Regions from separate parts of the Homo sapiens genome. Here region 1 is linked to region 2. The links are contacts of gene promoters, found by promoter capture Hi-C in blood cells and fetal thymus (Javierre and others, 2016). All regions are on one chromosome and are shown on one strand. The core of a region is centred on a gene start or on the middle of the fragment in contact, and the rest is flanking DNA. Distances in the headings are between cores, read along the strand shown. Region 1 has its middle 15 kb from the start of LINC01423. Region 2 holds the start of KCNJ6 (potassium inwardly rectifying channel subfamily J member 6).

Region 1 (3,117 bases), core at 48-2,547, 440 kb before region 2:
ATAGGAACCAGGTCAACAAAACTTCCTTTCAAGAAACAGCCTCGTGGCACCTTTCTCGAGATGAAGGTCATGGTGGGATCAGATACCAGCATGCCATTGGTTTGCATTAAGGTTTCAGAACCCATGTCCCACTTGGACCTGCTCTGTGATACCTTTGGTGTCTCCTGGTGTGCTTTACACAAGGACATGGCTGGGTCTGTAGGGCATGGGGGTGGCAGCGTGAGTGGACTGGGGTAAAGTCAAAGTCAACACTTGTCCTTTAACTGGTCACTGGCTAACTGGTCACTGGCTAGGCTAATTCTATGCCTCCTCTGAGGAAAACCTCTGGCATTCTCTTTCCTGGGAAGGCTAGCTTTGCTATGATGATCACCACAATATCTGTGTATGTCTGAGGACTTGAATTCAAGGGCATTAAGTCATCTTCCCAATACTTTTGTGACTTTGCAGTTATTCCAAAATCCCTGTCTCTGGATGGTGTGGCTTTGTTTCTTCTTGCCCAGCTGCCCAAGGTATTCCCTTCTCTTGTTTCTCCCCTCTTTCCTCAATCCCCAACTCCATTCCCTTTCTGGTTCCTCTCCAGTCCCAGAAAAAATTGTCAGGGATAGAGTAGAGATATGTGAACTTACAGAGTTTCTTCCCTGCTCAATAAATCCAAGAGCAGGCAGATAAACTGTCCAAAATATTTCTTGAGAGTTCCAGACATCATGGCATGGATGGAAGTATCCAGGGACTTGAGGTCCCTGTGAGGCTGAAAGCAGCCATGGTGGAATTACCAGGCGGGAGTGTGGCAGGGGAGGGAGTGAAGGGCCACCTTCCTGTTTTCCAGGGATTGCTCTGATGGGTTGAGGGAGAATGATCTGGGTGGGAGGAGTGACTTGCTGTAGGGTGACCTGAGCAGCTCATAATTCTGCAGGCTGATAACTCTTAGAGTGCTGGAGGGAAGTGGAGCCAACAGCCATTAGGGAAGACTGGAGATCATGCTGGGGGAGCATGGTGAACTTGAGGGCAGGGAAGGTGGACATAGAGAGAGAAGAGCCCCAAACAAATCTTATGCCTTTCACAGTAAAATAAAACCTATGGTGACAAAAATCATCTCCTAAAAATTGGTACTGGGGCAAGGCTGGGCCACAAGAAATTGTAATTGGGGAAGATGGGTTACCTTTACGTCAGAAGTGGGGGAAAGTGACAAAGGGGTTGAGTTAGGAGAGGGAAAGGTTGTGTGTCATGGGTGCTAGAAATTTAAGTCGTGGGATTAATGAGAACAAACTGGTCCACAAACCGTGAGTCCAGAGAGGTGCTGCCAAGCAGAGGACAGTGACTGAGGGTGTGCATAATGACAGGGAAGGCTCCTGGATAGAGAAGGGCCACAGTGCTGGGCATGAGCCCAGGCAGGCTGGAGAGTTTGTCCTCTGCCCCCTTCTTGAAGGTGTCATGCTCTCTCACTGTATTAGTCCGTTTTCATGCTGCTGATAAAGACACCCAAGACTGGGTAATTTATAAAAGGAAAAGAGGTTTAATGGATTCACAGTTCCAAGTGGCTGGGGAGGCTTCACAATTATGATGGAAGGCAAAAGGCACATCTTACCTGGCAGCCAGCAAAGACAGAACGAGAGCCAAGCAAAAGGAGTTTCCCCTTATAAAACCAGTAGATCTCGCGAGACTTATTCACCACCACGAGAACTGCCCCCATGATTCAAGTATGTCCCACCTGCCCTCTCCCACAACATGTGGGAATTATGGGAGCTACAATTCAAGATGAGATTTTGGTGGGGACACAGCCAAACCATGTCACTCACCTTCCTTGTATTTGCACACAGGTTCTCTCTCCCTGACATGCACCTGCCTATGCCACCACCAGGTCAGTGCTCACTCGCCCTTTGAGATCTCCATTCTGCACATGCTGGAGTGCCCCAGGTCCTAAGAAGACACCTCTTTCTACACCCTCTCTCTGGTTGATCACGTATAGCCTCATGACTTTTCATACCATTTGCATATATTGAGTTTGCAAATGTGAGACGATGACTCCAAGTTGTACCTGTAGTTGACATTTTCCAGGAACTCCAGCCTCTACCTAGATGTCTAATGAGTATCTCGAACTTAACATATCCCTAAACCAAATCAAACTCTCCCTAATGCCATACATCAAACTCCAATTTGGGTAGCTCTGCTGTTCAGAAAACATTACAAAGTCAACTCACCTCACACCGTTCCAGCAGTGCCTCTGTAGTCTGGTACCCCAAGGGCCCCTGTGTCGGTCAGCACTCTCCACATCTCCAAGGCTTACGACGACAGCCATCTCATTCTCACTCCCACCTCTGTCATGGCTGTGTGCCACGGTGGCAGCCCTGCTCCATAGGCTTTCCCATTCTAGGACCTGGACTGGAGGGTACCCCCTGTTGGAAATGCCTCTTCTCAGAGCAGAGGGAAAAAAGCAAGAGCCAACCAGGCAATGGCCCTCAAAACTTCTGCTCAGATGTGGCCTTTGCTCATGTCCCTCGAGGCAAAGCAAGTCACATGGCCAAATGCGCAGTCAATAAGGTTGGAGGGGTACACTCTGTCCCTGGGAGAGGCAGGCAAGGCCCATGGTAAAGGCAGAGGATGCAGAATCCTGTGACGGCCAAGGAGCAACTCAATCTCCCATCAGTCCTAACTTGTCCCCCTACTTCTACTCTCTCCTCCCTCACCAATTCCATTCTCTACACATCAACTAGAATAATTAAATACATGATTTAAAAACTTCATCTGACCATATCACTCTTCCCTCAGACCCTCCAATGGTTTCAAGTCCACTTGGGGTAAGAGAAAAAGTTGTAATCCTCCTAGTGGCCAACAATGCCCTGCAGAACCTGACTGCACACCAGCCTCTGACGGGTTCTGAGACTCTGTAGCCTCCATGTCCTACCTCATCCACTCCACTCCCAGTACACCGACTGCCCTGCAGACCCGCAAAATCCACTCCTGTCCCAGCACCTTTGCACTTGCTGCTTTCCCTGTCTGGATACTCCACAGCTCACTCCCTCACCCATCACCACCTCAGCCCCACCCTGCTGAGACCTGCAACCCCACCTGGCCCCCAGTGTATCTCCTGCTTCCTCATTTCCTCCATGGCACCCAACC
Region 2 (2,757 bases), core at 175-2,674:
TCCAGCAGGCATTGTGGAGCACGTATTACACATACTACAGATATTACACATACTCATATCTTCTGTATATGGGATATATGACTCAGAAGTAATAGCAAGTCAGATTACAACCTCTTAGGGAAAATCAACAGCAAATACAAGCTCACAGGCCGTGTGTACGGTTGACTTTTACATGACTTTGGATGCAAATTGACACAAACACCTCTCCATATTACAGTCATTTTTAGAGGGCAGACAGCATTCTTGAGGGGACCTGAATTGCTAGGTAATTAAAATGTATGTATGTAGAATAAAATAATCTTGGAAATAAGAGGTTTCCGTAAGCCTTCTCTCTAAAATAAGGTCACCTTCTTTGAGGTAGAGATTCTGTGCCTTGTGGAAGGAAAGCCACTTCATAAAGCAGCACAAGAATAGCCAGTTATTGAAAGGGCCATTATAAAATTACTAGCCAATGGTATTCGCTACTCTTACAATTTGTCAATCCATTCATCCCTAGGAAAAAGACAGCATAAAAGAGAGTTCTGTTCATAGGTAGAAGCAATTTATGGGAAGACTTTGGAAATGTAGAACCATTGTTTTTGATGACCATAAGAAAAAGAGGGGGTGCAAGAGGGGAGCACTATGAGGGGCCCCTGGAATAACAGCACAAAGCAAGTTAGATTCAAAGAGTGGAGTAGACCTTTGTCTAAGGGGCTTATCCTGACAAATTCAACTTTGAAGGCAGCCTGGGTCATTCTTGGAAAAGGCCATTCTTTGTCTCCAGTGACCCCAGAGACATCATATAAGGATGGGGTGATGATGCAGCAGCCGGGACCAGGTCCCAGTTGCAGTGGACAGGACAGAAGGGACTGAATGGGGCAGCAGGCTGGGGCGCCACCAGGTGCAAGCAAAGCTCAGGGATAGGGCCCCTCCCCTCCGTCCCGGCCGCTCGCTGCGCCCCCTCTGGGCGGTGCAGGCTCCGGCTCCCGCGCCGGGGCTGCCTCTCACGGATTTCAGCCCGGTGGGAGGCAGTGCCCAGAGCCTCTTTTTCCTTATCTCACAAAACCCTAAAAGCCGAACCCCTACAACCAGCAGACAAAACTGCTCCCCGAGCTTCGGCTCTTTCCTGCTTTCCAGGCGTTTCTCCGGGAATAACTTACTTAGTGGCACTGGGAGAAAGGTTGGGACTGGGGGGTCGGGGACCGAAACCCAAAAGATTCCCCCAGCATGGAGCACCCACGTTTCCAGTGGCGGGGGATGCACGTTGGTTTGTGCCCAGCCCGCCCCCACCAAGCCCGGTCCTCGACGCGCTGACACGCTAGCTGGCATGGGCGGCGGGGTGGGCGTCTCTGGGTCTGTGGCTCTGTCCTGCTCGCCCCCGCCCCTTCCTCCCGGACCGCGCCGGCGCTGTGCGGCTTTTTCCCCAGCACGCGGCGCTGCACTCGCTTTTATCTCGGAGCCGCGTCGCTTCGTGCGCTGCCAGCGGGGCTCAGCCAGTCGGCTGGAATTGAGTAGCATTCATTGAATCTGCGGATTTCATGACGTCTCTCTGCGTGGTCCACCACTTTTCTCCTAACCGGGGATTTTTTTTTTCTTCTGCCACTCTTATCTTTCCCCACTTCATTCCACCCAGTCTCCCTCCCCCGTCCCTGCCCAAACGCGCGCCCCTCCGCCCCTCCCTTGGCCCCAGCGCCCAGCCCTGCTCTCCGCGCTCGGCCAGAGGGAGCCAGTCCGGAGACGGCCGCACCTGGCTGGAGAGGCTGGGCGGGCGGAGGGGTGGAGACCCGCGGACGCCGGGAAGCCGGACCTGGAGCCGGAGCAGCCGCGAGCAGAATGGAGTCTCCTAACAGCCTCTCGGTGCTGATGTGAAATTTGACCATCTGATTCCAGTTTTTTTCTTTTCCTTTTCTTTTTTGCATTTCCTTCCCTCGCCATCCGTCGTGTAGTGAATTGTTCAGTCTTGCTCCGTTTCAAGAGAGGAGATCATGATTGAGTGAAGCCACCCCGTCCGCAGCCAGGTAAGCGGTGCGCTGAGCTGCTCGCAGGCGAGGAGCTGGCGTCCACCTGGGCGAGGCGTTCCGTGCTCTCGGGTCCCCGCGTCCCCTTCCCCAGCTCCGCCGTCGCCGCAGGCATCTCCACTCTCATGAGAAACATTGTGCCCAAGTCAGCCGAAAGGCGAGGGAGAAGCCGGTTACATAACAGAAGGGGAATCTGTTTCATACGGTTTTCATTAGCGACTGAAACTCGCACGGGGGGCGGGGGAAGGAGGGGTCTGCATCCCTGGGCTCGCAGAAACCCAGTCAGTTATTGCAGACATCATTTCAACATCCGCTGGCAAAGACTTAAATGCACTGATTAACTGACAGGTGCGGCTTGTGATGTAGTCATTTACAGTTGGGAAAAGCCTATTGTCTTTGTGGAAGGCAGTCTTCTTGTTCTGCTTTGCATGGAGAGGAGAGGAGACAACACGAAAGGGAGGAAAAGTGAGGGTTGGGGAGAAACATGCGGAGAATGGGAAACAGAATACTGTAACTCCTAACTGTTCTCTATCCTTAAAACCGAAGATGTGCTAGCATGACTAAAAACAGTGAATAGGAAGATCTTCCTAGGAGTAAACTGAATTATTTTGTAATTGGAAGGGAAGAAAAAACACTTTAGATAAAATGAGATGTGTGTGGCATTTAGAGGACTGGGTGGCTGTGGATATTTGCTTCCCTGTGGATATATTTTCATTTTCATCAAAACATTAAGCTTGGATTAGTTTTTAAGTGAAATAAC

Evidence for each region. The method cuts DNA at HindIII sites, captures the fragments that hold promoters and counts their contacts. A CHiCAGO score of 5 or more calls a contact.
Region 1: a contact is called between a fragment that was not itself captured here and the fragment with the promoter of KCNJ6 in region 2, in 2 of 17 cell types (neutrophils and endothelial precursors). The highest score is 5.7, in neutrophils.

What each region holds. Positions count from the first base shown.
Region 1 is chr21:38,359,262-38,362,378 of GRCh38, reverse strand. No RefSeq gene overlaps it. Among named protein-coding and RNA genes, the nearest start is that of LINC01423, 15 kb to the right of the region's middle. The HindIII fragment of the contact is 5,558 bases long and covers 1-3,117 here.
Region 2 is chr21:37,915,124-37,917,880 of GRCh38, reverse strand. KCNJ6 (potassium inwardly rectifying channel subfamily J member 6) reads left to right here and starts at 1,424. Exons shown (of 4, transcript NM_002240.5): 1 at 1,424-1,997. The HindIII fragment of the contact is 6,207 bases long and covers 1-2,732 here.